Linked DNA regions of Homo sapiens: region 2 is linked to region 1. The links are contacts of gene promoters, found by promoter capture Hi-C in blood cells and fetal thymus (Javierre and others, 2016). All regions are on one chromosome and are shown on one strand. The core of a region is centred on a gene start or on the middle of the fragment in contact, and the rest is flanking DNA. Distances in the headings are between cores, read along the strand shown. Region 1 holds the start of LRRC40 (leucine rich repeat containing 40). Region 2 has its middle 9.9 kb from the start of GADD45A.

Region 1 (3,923 bases), core at 736-3,235:
ACTGAAGTGTCTCTTACAATGATTACAGGATTAAAAAAAAAAGCAAGTTGGGAATTATGAAAAGCCACTAGGGAAGTCATGGTGATTAAAAAGAAAGGTTTTGGAGACAGATCTAGGTTCAAATTCCTGGTCGTGCTATTCAGAGAAACTTGTGAGGTTGGGTAAGTTTCTTCACCCCTTTTAGCCTCAATTTCCTTATCTGCAAAATTAGTCACTGTGTTAAATAAGAAATAGCAAACAGAGGTATTATTAGCACTGAGCCTGGTATGGGCCCAATAAGGCAGCTATTACCATTACTGTGAAGACAAGCTGACCAGGGACCTCATTAATAACGTTGCAAAAGCTGCTACGGTCGTTTTCCTTTAAAACTCAGGCTGGGCACGGCGACTGACACCTGTAATCCCAGCACTTTGGGAGGCCGAACTGGGCGGATCGCTTGAGGCTGGGAGTTCGAGACCAGCCTGACCAACATGGCGAAACTCCGTCTCTACTAAAAAATATAAAAATTAGCCAGGTGTGGTGGTGCGCGGCTATAATCCCAGCTACTGGAGAGGCTGAGGCAGGAGAATCACTTGAACCTGGGAGGCGGAGGTTGCAGTGAGCCGGGATCACGCCACTGCATTCCAGCCTAGGCGACAGACCAGACTTTGTCTCAAAAAAAAAAAAAAAAAAAAGACAAAAATCCACTCTTTGCTTTTTTAGTAGGGTAACAACTATTGGTAACTTTCTCTTGTTCGATATTAGTGTAAAGGACTCCACAGAAATAAGAACAAAAAGGGTAGAGTTAAAAACCGAATTTTACAGGTAGCAATAACCTGGACTCAGGTAAAAGTGCGTGATGAAGAATTGATCAAAGGGCCTTCATCCTAGCTTTCAACTATTCTACCAATCCTCAGTAGACTTGATGGGGGTTAGAATGGTATTCCCTGGCATATGCTTTTAAAACAAAATCATTTCAGGCAAAAGAAAAGTCTAGCACCCAGGATAGTACACATACTAGGCAGGATTAATCTTAATAATTACTTGTTGAATCAAGAAGTTGTACATTTCAGATGAAAATTTTAATTTCCTAGGAAACACCGACTTACATTGAACAAAATTTTCATTTGCTATTATTCTGGACTCACCGAGAGCTCAAGATTCTAGTTTTTATCTTCACTTATTTCAAAAACCTTATGCGGTAGGAATTATCCCCAAAGTAATGAAAAAAAGGAATGAGCTTTAAAAGCGGTTGAGTAAACTGCCTAAAGTTAACAGTTTCTAAAGTAAAGAAGCAGCTGAGATTTGAACTTGCTTTTTAGGGCTCAAAAATCCAAGCTGTCTGAGCTTCACTAAAGCATGTACCACTACTTGTCTCCCTAAACTGTCTGATACACAGAACATTTATTAAATTTTAAGGATTTTTGTTTTTGTCTTCTATGTTGCCAGTCCTTCCATTTCACATTACCTCCTTTGCTGGGTAAGCTATATACCCTCAATACAACGAGAATGGTGTCAGAGTACAAGCCTTAAGAACAGAAAATTTCTTTTACTCCGTACGCCAGAGGTCTGGCGCCACCACCACAAGCGACAAACACAGGCTGGGGTCCAGAAACGCTGCCGACCGCGCCCAGATCTCAAGTTTTAGTCAAGGCCCACGTTCAGACTAGGAGAGGGGAGAAGAGAGGGTTCTCTTTCCCCACACCCTCGCCACGGTGGAAGCACAGAGGAGAAGGTTGGAGTCGCAGTAACAGTGCAAACAATAAACCCGAAAGCCCCTCTTAAGCCCGTTAAACGCACTTACTTGATTGAAGTAATTCCAGGACGCTAGGCCGGCACCGGCAACGGAAAAGGCTTCTCTGTCCTCCAGCCCAGGCGCTGGTGCTGACGACATCTGGACTGCGCCGCAGAGAGTGAAGGCCCAGCGCGAGGCCGCGAGCCCAGCGCCCAGAGCGCGCGCTCACGAAAGGAGCGGGGCATCCCAACGGCGCCACCTTTAAGCGTCACGGGTGGGGCTGCAGCTTCTGGACCTAGGACTTTGAACATGTCGCGCCTGAAGCGGATAGCGGGGCAGGATCTCCGCGCTGGTTTCAAAGCAGGTGGAAGAGACTGCGGTACCTCGGTACCCCAAGGGCTGTTGAAGGCAGCGAGGAAGAGCGGCCAGTTAAACCTGTCGGGTAGAAACCTCAGTGAAGGTAAGACCCAGAGGTACGACCCTATTGTGTCTCCTGTCAGAAAGCCTTTGGCCCAGGCAACCTCCCTTTTCTCTGGGCTGGCTTTGGCCCCCTTTCTCAGACTGCTAGCCAGAATTTCTGTGCTCTAATCTAATCCCTGTGCTCATTTCGACCGGTTTGGTTAGCCCAGTTCAGTTCCTTCCCAGGTTCCCGCAATCTCTGTTAAAGGGACCCTGCTAAAAATACGGTCTAAATTTAAACGGGGCGCTTTCTGGGATTCCCACATTCTGTGGGATAAGCAACATAATATGTGACGAAACCAGCTATCAAATCACGGGCAAATCTTTTGTTTCTTTGGCCCTTATTTTCCTCCTCTTATTGTAATCTTCAAGGGCAATTACCAAAGCTAAAATTATATGTTTTATCGGCCCCTTTGTGAACCTGCACTGTTCCCTGCCGAGACGCTCTTCTGTATGCAGCTGTGCAGAGTTCTACTTACAAGGAATAATGAGTATATTTTCTAAGTTGAAGATCAGGATAGATGCCACACAGAGTGTTTGAATGTGGGGACATCCTGAGAAACCTGTTAAAGACCAAGAAGCACAAATCTGGGTACCATGAATGAATGGCCAGATGCTCTTCTGATTGTCGTGTGTGTGTGTGTGTGTGTGTGTGTGTAAGAGAGAGAGGGAGGGGAATGGAGAGATGGAGAAATAGAGCATTTTTCCTGTAATGTTTTTCTTCATTTATATTTAGGTTTTAAGACTGATTAAAACCTTCCATTTTCCTTCTAATGATTGCTTTCTTATTGTGACATGTATAAAGTAGATTAGGCAAGCAAATGCTTCTGAATGAATGAAAAGACACAGAATCCTTACTCCACCTAAAAGAGTTTTTGATCAATGGGAACATACTCATTTTCAAACTACAGTTGTGCATATATATATATCTACTTGGTTTCCCCAAAACCTGAAACATTTTTCTCTAAACTTGCATACCTATCATGCTAACATTCTGTTCTCTTACCTGTTTAATTTTTTAACAGCATTTATCACTATCAGAATTTATATCATTTATGTTTTTTGTTTTCTCTGCCCTCCAACCAAAAGGTTAATATCATGAAGTCAGTGAGCTTTGTTTTGTGCTTTGTTGTATTTCTATCACTGAAAATAGTGCTTGGTACATAGTAGAGTCTTATTAAATTTTGCGGAAGCAATAAGTAAGTGAATGAGTATTCTCAAATCATAAGTGGTGTGCTAGAATGTACTTATTGACTAGACTCAGGTGGTTTCGTCTGTTAAACTTTAAGAGAGCACATGGATTCTGACTCTTAGGTCCGTGATGATATGGATTAGAACTGCTTAGGTTATTGTTATATAACCAGAACCTAACACTTTACCTGGTACATAAAATGATTTTAAATGAGTGAATAAACAGCATTTCATAGGAGGGAAAGATATAAATGGCAGAAACTCATGGTATTTGTAGCTTATATATAAAAAAGGAATCCCTGTTACTATAATATAGAAAGTCTTTCTCTGTCTGGCTGTATGTAGCCCTCAGTTTCATCACTTGTTAGTGAAACTTTGATAGGCAAACCACTATAATTCTGAACTGTTTGTAGTTCGTTACGGGGTCGTGCTTCTTATCTTCCTATCTTTGCTCACATAACATTGAGATGGTTAATCACTCTGTGCCCTAATTTCTCATTTATTATGCAGGAGTCATAACAGGACCTATTAAGGTCTAAATGAGATAAAATGAAATAAA
Region 2 (3,923 bases), core at 564-3,063, 2.5 Mb after region 1:
AATGCTATGGAGTATGATTTGGCACTGTGTCTTAATAAACAGGTCACACCTGGGAGCTAGTGAGACCTCTCCCATCTGAGAAGAAGGAGCTACAACAGATGGTAAAACGACTGAAAACCAGGTGGGGTCACTGTTTAATGACCATCTGAATTAAGTTTGGTTAATTTGGCGTGTCCCTAATTATCCCTAGCAACTGGACCCTCTACTCCATTTTATAAGTTTGGATTTATATCTTTTATGTAAACTATCAAAACAAGTCCATCTGTGATCCTGAAGCTGTATTTGCCTTAAATCTAACCACAGGGGAAATCCTAATTTATTTGGTTCTAGCTATGAGGAGTCCTTAAACACTGGGTTTTTACAGTGCTCTGCAATTTACTTTTTCTCAGGTTGTCACCTATGATATGAGCATTGCCCTTCATTCTTCTCCAAGTTTAATGAAAAGACACTTAGCATAATTTCCAAAACTCAGACATGTCAAAACTTCAACCTATGTGCATCCCTTTAGAAGATTTTCTCATGAAATCTGTGTGCAGCAGTGAGTTGGCTTCCAGAGATGTTTAGAAAATTCAGAAGTTATGCTGTCCTCAACACTATAATAGATTCAAGGCCTGCCAGCTCCTTTAAAGACACTTCCTCCCCTACCCCCACCAGACCTTATTTTAGTTTGTTTATTTGTTTTTGTTTGTTTGTTTTAGGCAGGGTCTCCCTCTGTCACCCAGGCTGGAGTGCAGTGGCGCAATCTCAGTTCACTGCAGCCTCCAACTCCCAGGCTCAAGTGATCCTCCCCTAGGCTTTATTTATTAGTAAGAATATTAATTTGTGCTGGGATGGTGGCTTGCGACTATAATCCCAGCTACTCAGGGGGCTGAGGAGGGAGGATCACTTGAGACCATGACATCATGTAAACCAGGAGTCCAAGACCAGCCTGGGCAACACAGTGAGACCTCCATCTCTAAAAAAATTAAAATAAATTTTTAAAATATAAAAAGAAGAAAAAATACTAATTTGCTAAATGCTTATCATGCTTAGCACTATGGTAAATTTTTATTTACATGATGTCACTAAGCCCTCACAACAATCTATGAGATAGATACTATTATCTTCATTTTATTGCTAAGTAAGCTGTAGCCTACTGGAGAGGTTAAACTAGTTACTAACTCAAAAGACCCCTAGCTAAATGGCCAGGGCAAGATGCAAATGCACATCTGTGGGACTGCAAATCTCACATTCTTAACCACATATTATGCTTCTCTAGAACAGCTGTGGTTCACGTGGCATCAGAGTGTAGTGTTCAGAATGCAGACTCTGGAATCAGGCTTGGGCAAGCCATCTAAGCTCTTTTGCCTCTTTTCTGACAAACGCTGTCTCTTAAACTTATGATGAAAATCAAATGAGACAAAATACACACAGCACTTAGAGTACACTGCATGTAGCAGGACACCATGAATATTAATTAGATGGCACCCATTTTCCAATGTCCTTTCTAATTTTCTTTGTTCTTAATTCCTTCATCTAAGTAAAATATTGTATTTATTTCCATTTTCTCTAACATTTGAGGCATCATTGCTAACAGCAAAAGTACTGACTGGACTTCCTGGTCCGTCCTTACTGCTGTGAAAATTCCCCTGAATTTTGATGGCAGCCACAGGTAGATCCAATATACATGTTCCCTTTCTAACTATAGATGAACCGAGGTTCCCCCATCAGTGCATTTTAGATCTTTAGGCCGTTTTTTGTTTTTGTTTTTGTTTCCTTGTTTGTTTGAGATAGGGTCTTGCTCTGTCGCCCAGGCTGGAGTGCAGTGGCATGAACTCGGCTCACTGCAACCTCGGTTCACTGCAACCTCTGCCTCCCGGGCTCAAGTGATTCTCGTGCCTCAGCCTCCAGAGTAGCTGAGACTGCAGGCCTGCGCCACCATGCCTGGCTAATTTTTGCATTTTTAGTAGAGATGCAGTTTCACCATGTTGACCAGGCTGGTCTTGAATTCCTGGCCTCAAGTAATCCACCCATTTCAGCCTCCCAAAGTGCTAGGATTAGAGATGTGAGCCACCACAACCAGCCTTTTTAGGCAGTTTTGATAATGTGAATCATGTGTTTCTGTGCATGCTAAGGAACAGGCTTGATGTTATTCAAACACTTCTCGTGTGCGTGTTTTTTAATACAGAACAATGAGTTTCTCAAGTTCACTGTAAAATACTCATGTTTTCTTTTATCCTCTGAGAGCTTCCTGTATTTGTGAGCTCCTTTCAAATCAGCAACTGCAGCCTCGACATCTGGATCCTCCCTGGTGTGGGGAACATAAATTAACTGGTAGCACCCTGTAAATGTTATGGGCAGGAGGAGTTCAGGGAGTGCACAGAGGCAGGCCAGGGTGCTTTCAGTATGTGGCAGCTGGTCCCGATGTAGTGCCTCAGAACTGGGTTTAGCTGACGTCAGATAACACTGATGTGCACCAGATTGACTTGTAGTACCAGGAAAGCTGACCCCTCCCACTTCCCCTACTGCCCCTCTGCTTGCCAGGATGCTGGAGACCATTATGAACTCACAGTTGTCATTTGATCTCCATCTGGCTGCTGTCACTAAAGCTGCCTTTTATCATTTGCCAAAAAGTGTAAAGCAAAAGACATTTCCCTTTCTCACAAATCTTTGCTTCTAGTCCTTGCTCTTCTCATTTTCTGGGTAGTTCCAAGTAATTCTCCTTCTGTCTGAGTCTATGTAGCACCATCAGGAAACCAGCAAAGGACTCACTAGAATATTTACCCATATGCCATCTTCTTGGTGAACTAGATTTAGCAATGGATTTTTTAGGAAGTGTTAGAGGTGGGCTGTGGCTTTGCTGACTTCAAATATTATGTCTTAAGTTTGATGTGGTTTGAACTGCTGATATAAATGTGAGATTTGCGTGTATGAGCTCATATTGTGATAAATTTTATGAGGATGTAGATCACAACAGTCTAGCCATACAATTATGTGGGTCCCTGTATTAAATTAGAATCTACCCAAATTAAACAATGAATATAATAGCAACATGCCATAAATTGGATCTTCTAACAGCTTAGTAATATGAGGGGAATAGAAGAATAAATTCTGAGGTGATACTTGTTGTACTTAGTCACTAAGAACACTAGAATGTTAGTTGAAGCTGATCATAAATCCGGTACCAGCTTAAAAATTTACTGTTAGTGATCATCTAGCAGTTAAGATTTAGCAACATTAGCAAAAGATCATTCTTTGTCAAGAAAACTCTTTAGGGATGACATTTGATATTCAACAAGTGTTGATGGTAATGATGATGGAATATTGTACACTCCAAAAGTTTTGGAAACAAATTTAGGATTCTGATTTTTATGCAGTTTAGCAAATTAATTCTTCAAGAGGTAATTACAAAGAACCTTTTATGTATGTTCTCAGTATACTGTTTATAAAGAAATTAGAAGGCACTACACTCTATATGAATCCATAGTGTGTATGTATGTGTGTGCAAAAAAAAGTGTGGATGGATATACCTCAAAATGTAAGCAATGTTCCTTTATTGTCCATCCTTCCTTCCTTGCTTCCTTCCTTCCTTGCTTCCTTCCTTCCTTCTCTCCTTCCTTCCTTTCTTTCTTTCTTTCTTTTTCTTTCTTTCTTTGTTTCTTTGTTTCTTTGTTTCTTTGTTTCTTTGTTTCTTTCTTTCTTTCTTTCTTTCTTCCTTCCTTCCTTTCTTCCTTCCTTCCTTCCTTTCTTCCTTCCTTTCTTCTTTTCTTCTTTTCTTTTCTTTTTTGACAAGGTCTTTCTCTGTCACCCAGGCTGGAGTGCAGTGGCCCAATCATGATGTGTATGAGCTCATACTGCAACCTTGACCTCCCAGGATCAAGCAATCCTCCTACTGAGTAGCTGAGACTATAGGCACACACTTAGCTAATTATGTTTTTTAGAGA

Evidence for each region. The method cuts DNA at HindIII sites, captures the fragments that hold promoters and counts their contacts. A CHiCAGO score of 5 or more calls a contact.
Region 2: a contact is called between a fragment that was not itself captured here and the fragment with the promoter of LRRC40 in region 1, in 1 of 17 cell types (neutrophils). The highest score is 7.7, in neutrophils.

Annotation. Positions count from the first base shown.
Region 1 is chr1:70,203,641-70,207,563 of GRCh38, reverse strand. LRRC40 (leucine rich repeat containing 40) reads left to right here and starts at 1,985. Exons shown (of 15, transcript NM_017768.5): 1 at 1,985-2,174. The coding sequence starts at 2,024. It also overlaps a transcript of SRSF11 not described here. RefSeq lists enhancers at 1,762-2,071, 2,332-2,391. The HindIII fragment of the contact is 8,465 bases long and covers 1-3,923 here.
Region 2 is chr1:67,673,335-67,677,257 of GRCh38, reverse strand. No RefSeq gene overlaps it. Among named protein-coding and RNA genes, the nearest start is that of GADD45A, 9.9 kb to the left of the region's middle. The HindIII fragment of the contact is 5,084 bases long and covers 1-3,923 here.